Regions from separate parts of the Homo sapiens genome. Here region 2 is linked to region 1. The links are contacts of gene promoters, found by promoter capture Hi-C in blood cells and fetal thymus (Javierre and others, 2016). All regions are on one chromosome and are shown on one strand. Each heading gives the region's core, a stretch centred on a gene start or on the middle of the fragment in contact. The rest is flanking DNA. Distances are from core to core; before and after follow the strand shown.

Region 1 (5,696 bases), core at 1,172-3,671:
GTGCTGGGATTACAGGCATGAGCTACTATCATTATCAAAGTATAGGATACTGAAAAGAGGCCTCAAAGTAAATAGTTAAGGGAAAGGTTTAGAAAGACTTTTGTATGCTGTGCTAAAAAGTTTACCTATACCGTATCTTCTGGGCTATGGGAAGTCATTAAACGTTTTGAGTGATGTAAGATCTGTTTTGGAAAAATAACTCTTGGTAATGACACTAGGATTTAGAGTGTGAGGGTAGTTGTTGTTGTTGTTTATGGACAGGGTCTCACAATATTGTCCAAGCTAGAGTGCAGTGGCTATTCACAGGTGTGATCATAAGGCACTACAGCCTTAAACTCCTGGACTCAAGTGATCCTCCTGCCTCAGCCTCTGGAGTAGCAAGAGTGAGATGTAAAGTAAAAACTCCAGGAAACCAACTAGAAGGTGCTGCCATGATAACAGCAATGGTGAATTTTTACTGTGTACTTTTTATGTACCAGGCACTTTATTTCATTTTATCTCATTTAGACCTTAATAGGTCCTGTTATGACTCCTGCATAATAAATGAGAAATTAGGGCACAGAGTGATTAACCATCTCAATGTTATGTGAGCAAAGATAGGAAGATAAGAAGCACGACCCCGTAACGAACTACAAACAGTTCAGAATTATAGTGGTTTGCCTATCAAAGTTTCACTAACAAGTGATGAAACTGAGGGCTACATACAGCCAGACAGAGAAAGACTTTCTATATTATAGTAACAGGGATTCCTTTTTTATATATAAGCTACAAATACCATGAGTTTCTGCCATTTATATCTTTCCCTCCTATGAAATGCTGTTTATTCACTCATTTAAAATCATTTTATGTACCAGGTAAAGTGTTAGGTTCTGGTTATATAACAATAACCTAAGCAGTTCTAATCCATATCATCACGGACCTAAGAGTCAGAATCCATGTGCTCTCTTAAAGTTTAACAGACGAAACCACCTGAGTCTAGTCAATAAGTACATTCTAGCACACCACTTATGATTTGAGAATACTCATTCACTTACTTATTGCTTCCGCAAAATTTAATAAGACTCTACTATGTACCAAGCACTATTTTCAGTGATAGAAATACAACAAAGCACAAAACAAAGCTCACTGACTTCATGATATTAACCTTTTGGTTGGAGGGCAGAGAAAACAAAAAACATAAATGATATAAATTCTGATAGTGATAAATGCTGTTAAAAAATTAAACAGGTAAGAGAACAGAATGTTAGCATGATAGGTATGCAAGTTTAGAGAAAAATGTTTCAGGTTTTGGGGAAACCAAGTAGATATATATATATGCACAACTGTAGTTTGAAAATGAGTATGTTCCCATTGATCAAAAACTCTTTTAGGTGGAGTAAGGATTCTGTGTCTTTTCATTCATTCAGAAGCATTTGCTTGCCTAATCTACTTTATACATGTCACAATAAGAAAGCAATCATTAGAAGGAAAATGGAAGGTTTTAATCAGTCTTAAAACCTAAATATAAATGAAGAAAAACATTACAGGAAAAATGCTCTATTTCTCCATCTCTCCATTCCCCTCCCTCTCTCTCTTACACACACACACACACACACACACACACGACAATCAGAAGAGCATCTGGCCATTCATTCATGGTACCCAGATTTGTGCTTCTTGGTCTTTAACAGGTTTCTCAGGATGTCCCCACATTCAAACACTCTGTGTGGCATCTATCCTGATCTTCAACTTAGAAAATATACTCATTATTCCTTGTAAGTAGAACTCTGCACAGCTGCATACAGAAGAGCGTCTCGGCAGGGAACAGTGCAGGTTCACAAAGGGGCCGATAAAACATATAATTTTAGCTTTGGTAATTGCCCTTGAAGATTACAATAAGAGGAGGAAAATAAGGGCCAAAGAAACAAAAGATTTGCCCGTGATTTGATAGCTGGTTTCGTCACATATTATGTTGCTTATCCCACAGAATGTGGGAATCCCAGAAAGCGCCCCGTTTAAATTTAGACCGTATTTTTAGCAGGGTCCCTTTAACAGAGATTGCGGGAACCTGGGAAGGAACTGAACTGGGCTAACCAAACCGGTCGAAATGAGCACAGGGATTAGATTAGAGCACAGAAATTCTGGCTAGCAGTCTGAGAAAGGGGGCCAAAGCCAGCCCAGAGAAAAGGGAGGTTGCCTGGGCCAAAGGCTTTCTGACAGGAGACACAATAGGGTCGTACCTCTGGGTCTTACCTTCACTGAGGTTTCTACCCGACAGGTTTAACTGGCCGCTCTTCCTCGCTGCCTTCAACAGCCCTTGGGGTACCGAGGTACCGCAGTCTCTTCCACCTGCTTTGAAACCAGCGCGGAGATCCTGCCCCGCTATCCGCTTCAGGCGCGACATGTTCAAAGTCCTAGGTCCAGAAGCTGCAGCCCCACCCGTGACGCTTAAAGGTGGCGCCGTTGGGATGCCCCGCTCCTTTCGTGAGCGCGCGCTCTGGGCGCTGGGCTCGCGGCCTCGCGCTGGGCCTTCACTCTCTGCGGCGCAGTCCAGATGTCGTCAGCACCAGCGCCTGGGCTGGAGGACAGAGAAGCCTTTTCCGTTGCCGGTGCCGGCCTAGCGTCCTGGAATTACTTCAATCAAGTAAGTGCGTTTAACGGGCTTAAGAGGGGCTTTCGGGTTTATTGTTTGCACTGTTACTGCGACTCCAACCTTCTCCTCTGTGCTTCCACCGTGGCGAGGGTGTGGGGAAAGAGAACCCTCTCTTCTCCCCTCTCCTAGTCTGAACGTGGGCCTTGACTAAAACTTGAGATCTGGGCGCGGTCGGCAGCGTTTCTGGACCCCAGCCTGTGTTTGTCGCTTGTGGTGGTGGCGCCAGACCTCTGGCGTACGGAGTAAAAGAAATTTTCTGTTCTTAAGGCTTGTACTCTGACACCATTCTCGTTGTATTGAGGGTATATAGCTTACCCAGCAAAGGAGGTAATGTGAAATGGAAGGACTGGCAACATAGAAGACAAAAACAAAAATCCTTAAAATTTAATAAATGTTCTGTGTATCAGACAGTTTAGGGAGACAAGTAGTGGTACATGCTTTAGTGAAGCTCAGACAGCTTGGATTTTTGAGCCCTAAAAAGCAAGTTCAAATCTCAGCTGCTTCTTTACTTTAGAAACTGTTAACTTTAGGCAGTTTACTCAACCGCTTTTAAAGCTCATTCCTTTTTTTCATTACTTTGGGGATAATTCCTACCGCATAAGGTTTTTGAAATAAGTGAAGATAAAAACTAGAATCTTGAGCTCTCGGTGAGTCCAGAATAATAGCAAATGAAAATTTTGTTCAATGTAAGTCGGTGTTTCCTAGGAAATTAAAATTTTCATCTGAAATGTACAACTTCTTGATTCAACAAGTAATTATTAAGATTAATCCTGCCTAGTATGTGTACTATCCTGGGTGCTAGACTTTTCTTTTGCCTGAAATGATTTTGTTTTAAAAGCATATGCCAGGGAATACCATTCTAACCCCCATCAAGTCTACTGAGGATTGGTAGAATAGTTGAAAGCTAGGATGAAGGCCCTTTGATCAATTCTTCATCACGCACTTTTACCTGAGTCCAGGTTATTGCTACCTGTAAAATTCGGTTTTTAACTCTACCCTTTTTGTTCTTATTTCTGTGGAGTCCTTTACACTAATATCGAACAAGAGAAAGTTACCAATAGTTGTTACCCTACTAAAAAAGCAAAGAGTGGATTTTTGTCTTTTTTTTTTTTTTTTTTTTGAGACAAAGTCTGGTCTGTCGCCTAGGCTGGAATGCAGTGGCGTGATCCCGGCTCACTGCAACCTCCGCCTCCCAGGTTCAAGTGATTCTCCTGCCTCAGCCTCTCCAGTAGCTGGGATTATAGCCGCGCACCACCACACCTGGCTAATTTTTATATTTTTTAGTAGAGACGGAGTTTCGCCATGTTGGTCAGGCTGGTCTCGAACTCCCAGCCTCAAGCGATCCGCCCAGTTCGGCCTCCCAAAGTGCTGGGATTACAGGTGTCAGTCGCCGTGCCCAGCCTGAGTTTTAAAGGAAAACGACCGTAGCAGCTTTTGCAACGTTATTAATGAGGTCCCTGGTCAGCTTGTCTTCACAGTAATGGTAATAGCTGCCTTATTGGGCCCATACCAGGCTCAGTGCTAATAATACCTCTGTTTGCTATTTCTTATTTAACACAGTGACTAATTTTGCAGATAAGGAAATTGAGGCTAAAAGGGGTGAAGAAACTTACCCAACCTCACAAGTTTCTCTGAATAGCACGACCAGGAATTTGAACCTAGATCTGTCTCCAAAACCTTTCTTTTTAATCACCATGACTTCCCTAGTGGCTTTTCATAATTCCCAACTTGCTTTTTTTTTTAATCCTGTAATCATTGTAAGAGACACTTCAGTTGTTTTTAAGAAGATTTCTTTATTAAAGAACCACCTTTTTCTCTTTATAGTAACAACCTACCTTTGGGGAAGAAACAACCCACCTTTGGAGAATTGAATTGCTCGAGTACAAAATTTTACAGTAACCACCCCTCCCCCTACAATAGATTCTTCTTTCGTTCTTTTTTTTTTTTTTTTTAAGAGACCAGGTCTCACTCTGTCACCCATGATGAAGTACAGTGGTGCGATCACAGCTCACTGCAACCTCGAAATCCTGGGCTCAAACAGTCCTCCCACCTCAGCTTCCTGAGTAGCCATCACACCACCATGCCCAGCTAATTGTTTTTATTTTTTGTAGAAACGAGTCTGTGTTGCCAAGGCTGGTCTTGAACTCCTGGCCTCAAGCTATCCTTCCATCTAGGGCCTTCCATAGCACTGGGATTACAGGCATGAGCCACCTCAAGCAATCCTTCTATCTGGGGCCTTCCAAAGCACTGGGATTATAGGCATGAGCCACCACACCCTGCCTAGTTCAATTTATTAAAAAATAACAGCAAGGTATAATTTTTAAATTTGTTGTTCTTGAAGTTAAATATTTCATTATTGACATTTAATGATACTGTATTAAAACATTGTTTCATCTTGTATAAGGAAAGTATCTTCTGTTTAATGGCAAAGAGTAATTCTGAAAAAAAATCCCAGTGGCCATATGCTTGTGGTAAACTCCAATAGATATAAACTGACATATATAAGAATGTACTAGTTACTGTAATACAGTGTATGGTGTGTGTGTGTGTGTGTGTGTGAGTGAGATGGAGTCTCGCACTGTCACCCAGCCTAGAGTGCAATGGCTCAACCTTGGTCACTGCAACCTCCACCTCCCAGCTTCAAGTGATTTCTCCTGCCTCAGCCTCCCAAGAAGCTGGCATTACAGGTACGCACCACCACACCCAGCTAATTTTTTTGTATTTTTTTAGCAGAGGCAGGGTTTCGCCATGTTGGCCAGATTGGTCTCAAACTCCTGGCCTCATGTGATCCACCTGCCTCGGCCCCCGAAATTGCGGGAATTACAGGTGTGAGCCACCGCACCCAGCTGCTGTATTGTATTTATGTAGTAAGTGCAGATTGAGCAAGTTACAGTAAAAATTATTACCTAATGCAATAGAGAAAATAACATGTTTTGTCTCAAATGGATGGAAACTGAAAGCTAATCAACTTCAACTGAGCTTCTTTATGAAAAGATAGTTATATATACTTATGTGAGAATTAGCTCCATTTCCATTGTTTTAAGGAGAATACATTGAAAGCAAA
Region 2 (5,779 bases), core at 3,085-5,584, 3.2 Mb before region 1:
CCATTAAAATGTAACCATCATATAGATTCATCAAAGCAAATAAATGGAGGCCAAGACATGCATATTTAAAGAAAATGGATTGGAAACAAATCAACACCGTCCTTGGTTCTTCAAGCCTATTCCAAAAACAAAAACAAAACAAAAAAAAATAAACTATCTGCAAAATAATGAAACCTACTGGGATAGACATTGAATCTACACTTCTTTTCTAGAGGAGCAGGCAAAGCCCCTGGCCAAGGCAAGATCAATTCAATACTAATAGTACTATCAAGCAGGTAGGACACTTGTATTTATTTATTATCTAAGCTCCCAAAAAGGAACTTAAGTAGTTTCAGAAACATTCTACACATAATAGAAAAGACTAAAAACTAAGCAGTTAAAGTCATCTGACTAAAGAGAAAATATGGGTAGGAAAATAAGATAAAGTCATGGTCAGTTACAAGATGTAATTATGAGATAAAAATGTACCAGCTGCTCAGGAAAAACTATGGTGACATCTAAGATAAGTATCTCATATGAGTCCTCATATAGGATACATTATGATATCAAGGACAATTCCTTCAATTAGCCACCCTAGGATATATAAAGTTGAGATCCATTTAGGTGTTTCTTACAGTAATGTAATCTCATAACGTAATGTTGCAAAAGCAATATGATTCAAATACTCAGCTTTCTAATAATCTGGCTTGATCTAAAAATAATATATTTAAAGTATATAGTAAACAAATAAACAATATCTGGTAAAGCCAAGGCCAGGAAACACTGTGTTGCCCCTAAGAGAGACAGAGATACTAATGCTCCCTAAAATTTCCCATTATTTATAGGGCAAATACATAAAGGCCATTTTTGTTTTGCAGCCCCTTCCAACATTCATTTCCCTTCAAGTCTGCCCAAAGGTTTCCAAGTAGTTCTCTTTCTGCCTCCCAGGTCCCTCGGAAAGTCCTCTAGAATACAGCCATGAACATTTAAAGACACTGCAGTGAACACACTTTACTTTCCCTACCCCACACGAAGTCAAAATTCACGCAATCCCAGAAAAGCCTGGAATAAAACCTAATTGCTAATTAATTAAAAAATAAAGTTTCTTATATGAACACTAAAGTACAGGAATTTTACCCTCAGAGAGCCACTATGTCTTTCTCATCCCCAGTAAGAACTTTCTTTATTCCCCACTTTTTCTCCTATGAATTGACATGCCAACATCAGTACACAACTGTTAAAGCTTTAGATTGCTACTTACTTTTGAATCTAATTTTTGTTTTACGTATGCACCATTTGCTGCTGTTAGGACATCGTTTATCAGAATAAAAGCATATCCTTCCAGATCAAATGCCAAGTCAGAGCTGCAAAACATAAGCAACACTTTAAGAACAACTTAAAGAACATGCATTTAATTTTAAATAGATATAAGCTAAAATATTTACAAGAACATATTCTCATCTAGGGAAGTGAATATTAGGCATTTTATCAGCTACTAGTATTTCTTGATTTCTGGTCATAGTTTGCAATTTCACCTCAATAAGGGATTCCTCAGAAATAAGAGGCACTAACATTTAAACACATAATTAGCAACGGTCATTCATGTCATTTAATAGCACACCGCTCTGCATTCAAAGCCAGATGACAACAAGCACCAAATTACCATTAAGTACATCTGTGAAGCAGGCAGAAGCAGGCAGAGCTCAATTTCATAGACAAGAAAACCAAAAGGATGAGGCCATTAACAAGTCATTTTCTGAAGGTCCACATGAAAGGTAGGACTATCTTGCATAGGTAGTTGGGCCCCTGGGTGAAATTTCTGAAGTGTGGATCATGGTTAGTTCTGAGATCAAGCTAGAACAATGTCTAAGCACATAGCAGGAACTCAAATACTTAAACAATAGCTCAATGAACCTGTGAAGTATAACTTGGGGGTTTAGGGAAACTGAAAATTTCTGGAACTTAGAGTACCAGGCACGAGATAAGAATTTAGTAAATTAAACAGAATAAATGAAAATCTGAGAAAGGTATGCCTTCAGCATACTTCAGCACCCTAGCTAAAATAGTGGCTGCACAGACTCTGATTTTGCAGAGATACTGTATAGGAGCCAAGACTTATCTAATGAGTTCTATGCCACTGCAATTTTAGGCAGGACTAACTTAATGCACACTCCCTACCCCAAGCAGTCTAACAACCTTCTGACTGACTTCAGAGGTCTGAGTTCCCTTCCTTTCAATCTTTTTCCAAGTCAAAGGGTCTAACCAGATAAGGCTGGTCCAGACAGTAATCCTTTTCAGAAGTTTTTGTAGACACAAGAAAGCCCTGAGGAACCCCTGTTGTTTGGTACAATTTTGGGTCCCATCAGCTTCAAGGAAATGTTTCAAAGACTAGCAGGGCACCTCTAAAAAGAAAGGTAGGAGGCTAGCATAGAATTTTTCTCCAAGGGGGGAATATGACATAGAAGGAAAAGCAGTTAGCTATATAGCCAATTTCTAGTAACCAATTACGCCACTCTCTTTTTTTTAGAATGAAATTTTACTTGGAGATTGGACTTGTAAAACAGGACTGGACTGATAATATTTTCTTCCACCTATACTACAGGAATGTGATGAAGGTAAATGAGTCAATTCAAGAAGTACACTGGAACTCCTGGATGGAAAACATATGTCTGGCAGAATGTGTGGCATTAGTAAATACATATATGCATGCCCTGGGCTGATTAAAATGTTGTAGAAGACTTCTAGCATCATTATAATTTTCTAGGTCTGTGGGTATACATTTTCCTCATGTATTTTAAAACTAAAACTTAAGAAAAATGGGAAAAGCTTTAATAACCTAATAGAATATCTAAGTTATGGCATTTGTGACATATCTTATGTGAGGCCAATTAAAGCAATGTTATTGTTCATTATTCGAAAAGGCAAGCAAATGTTTCATAGTCATTTTCCTCACCTCACAGAAGAGGAGACATGCTTTTCTTTAGCAGCATGCAAAATTAAGGAACGCCAGGCCAGGCGCGGTGGCTCACGCCTGTAATCCCAGCACTTTGGGAGGCCAAGGCAGGCGGATCACGAGGTCAGGAGATCGAGACCATCCTGGCTAACATGGTGAAACTCCGTGTCTACTAAGAATACAAAAAATTAGCTGGGTGTGGTGGCAGACACCTGTAGTCCCAGCTACTCGGGAGGCTGAGGCAGGAGAATGGCGTAAACCTGGGAGGCGGAGCTTGCAGTGAGCCGAGAGCCCACTACTGGACTCCAGCCTGGGCGACAGAGCAAGACTCCGTCTCAAAAAAAAAAAAAAGAAATGCCACATGGTTTATAAAAACACACAGGCTCTGAAGAAAGCCACAGATTCAAATTTCAGCTCTGCCATTAGCTCTGTGACCTTAAGTAAGTTATTGAACTTAAGTTTTAGTTTCTTCAACTATAAAATAGGAAAATTATACCCATACCTCTCAGAGGTGTTGTGAAGAATACATAATAAGATGTGTAAAATGCCAAACATATTGTGTGGCACATGCTATGTGCTCAGCACAACGACAGTAACAAATTCTAAATTACATCAATTTAAATTTTAACAATCCCAAGAATCTTATTTTTGTCAACCTTTATCTTAATACAGCCAAAAAGATTTAACCTTTTCAAGAGTCTTCTAGATGCTTTTCAAAGATATAATTCTTATTTAGGCAATAAAAAATTGTTATTGATAAGCAATCATTTATTATCAATAATTATTGACAATTTATAATGTGCTAGTCATAGGCCCACATCTTACCTGGCAGCTACAAAGGCTCCAATAATCATTGCAAATACAGTCATTTTAATACCCCAAGAAAAAGTCTTCCTACAAAACAAAAAATTTTAAAATACACACATGACTTTATTCCCACACTCATTTTACAACAGAAGCAAAAAATGGGATATGCTTTCTCAAAAGCTATAAACAATCGTATTTTAAACATTTCTGAGAAACTGATATTTAAAAGAACCCCTTTGATAAAGCAAAAATTTATTGTTATATAAGTTATTACACCCACTTTTAAAATTTTCACCTATTGTCATTATTAGTGAGTTTGAATTTTTGTGAAGCAGAATTTCTTTAACAGAAAAATGTCACATTCATTTGGAGCTAGACATGAACACTATTTAAAACCTATACCTATGATTCTGATCCAGCTTCTCCCGGTGGCAGTAGTACAGAAATTCTAGAAAGTAAATCTCACGTTCAGATAAGATTTTCAACTCTAATTCATAACCTTCCCAACTACCACTCCCACAAACTATCAATTCCAGCAGCCAAGAGAGAGGGTTGCTTAAACTTCTCAAAAGGTAAGGTAGGAACAAGACAAATAATTTAATATCTCACATATGCTGGGCACCTTTTCAAGGTGATTTAAAGAACAGATATATTAGAAACTTAGCTCACTTGAGTAAAACTCCTTCAGCAAACATTGTAAACAGGATGGAGAACCTTCTCAGAACTGTAAACATTGGCAAGCTGGAAAAAAAAAAGATAATTAGGTAAAATAGAATTTAACAATTTGTTTTAAACTAAGATTTTCCAAATTGGTAGTTAAAATAATGCTATTCTTCCATTATGGAAATTCCATACAAATTAATTTATGGTTAAACCCCTGCTTCTCTCTAGAAGCAATTCCTACTTGAAAGCCTACAACAGTTGCTTTTAAAAAACTACTAGAAGTGAGAAACATTAAATTAACTACAAAACTTTATTCTAATTATGCAAAACCCTAAGCTGTAAATATGTCAGTTTTTAATAGAAAAAGGCTTCCTTCTCATTTTTTCACTAGTCTGACCTCCCTTCCCACCCCCTAGACCACCCAAAAACCATCTATGAAAATCTTACCCCATGAAATGCCTTGACTGTCCTTTTGTGGATGTAATTTTGTCTTCATCTAAATTCCCAGAGCATTTTGCTTGTACTAATCAAACATACAGCCTCTTGCAATATAGTTATTTCTGAATATATCTTATCTCACTCCAAAGTGCCTTATACTTAGCTGGCAATCAAAGATAGGTGTGAATGAATGGTTGGATGAGATGGATGAAAAAAAGCAAACTCTACACAAGCAGCACTTTGCAGAAGGCCTGCATTTCTTTCCTGGTGGGTAATGAAATGGAAAAAAATGTCCCACCCATGATAAATCTGACTTCCTTGGAACCCTCTTCAGAGATATCATCTCGGTCATTCTGTCAGGTTTCTCGGGTTTTAAAGGAAGAAATGAAAAACACCTTGTCCTTGATGCTCAAAAATCTCTCCATTCTATTTTACAATGCCAGGGTTTTAGCTTGTGTGGTAGTGGTGAAGCCATGGGGTTTCTGTTAAATGTTTTCTCTATTTGTGTCATTTTAATACCACACACAACCGATATGTACACTACAATAAGAGCAGAAGCCAGAAACCGGGAGGTTAGAGGGAAAGACAGTGTTACCATGGAGAGGAGAGCTATTGCTTCTTTCTGAAAATAAGTATGTTGCCTCTACAGTTACATGCCATGTGTAAGATATTAATAATATTTTTATCAGGGTTCTAGCTGATGTTACCTTACTTCACATTAAAAGAAAAACTGCAAAAGTTCTTGTGCCTACCCTCTAATTTTGCTGTGTGGAAGTTGCCTAAAATATTTATGAACTATACTAAAGAACTGAAATCCCAGAAGCCTAGTATATATCTTCACTATTGTGGCTCTAGAAAAATAATAAAAATTTCCTATCATAGCATTTTATAACATTTTAAGACTTCTAACATCAAAATGAGGGGTAAAAAAACAAAAAC

Evidence for each region. The method cuts DNA at HindIII sites, captures the fragments that hold promoters and counts their contacts. A CHiCAGO score of 5 or more calls a contact.
Region 2: a contact is called between a fragment that was not itself captured here and the fragment with the promoter of LRRC40 in region 1, in 1 of 17 cell types (total CD4 T cells). The highest score is 6.8, in total CD4 T cells.

What each region holds. Positions count from the first base shown.
Region 1 is chr1:70,203,158-70,208,853 of GRCh38, forward strand. LRRC40 (leucine rich repeat containing 40) reads right to left here and starts at 2,422. Exons shown (of 15, transcript NM_017768.5): 1 at 2,233-2,422. The coding sequence starts at 2,383. It also overlaps a transcript of SRSF11 not described here. RefSeq lists enhancers at 2,016-2,075, 2,336-2,645. The HindIII fragment of the contact is 8,465 bases long and covers 1-5,696 here.
Region 2 is chr1:67,046,025-67,051,803 of GRCh38, forward strand. It overlaps SLC35D1 (solute carrier family 35 member D1), which reads right to left. Exons shown (of 12, transcript NM_015139.3): 5 at 4,409-4,480; 6 at 3,758-3,826; 7 at 1,241-1,343. Among named protein-coding and RNA genes, the nearest start is that of SLC35D1, 5.2 kb to the right of the region's middle. The HindIII fragment of the contact is 3,063 bases long and covers 2,804-5,779 here.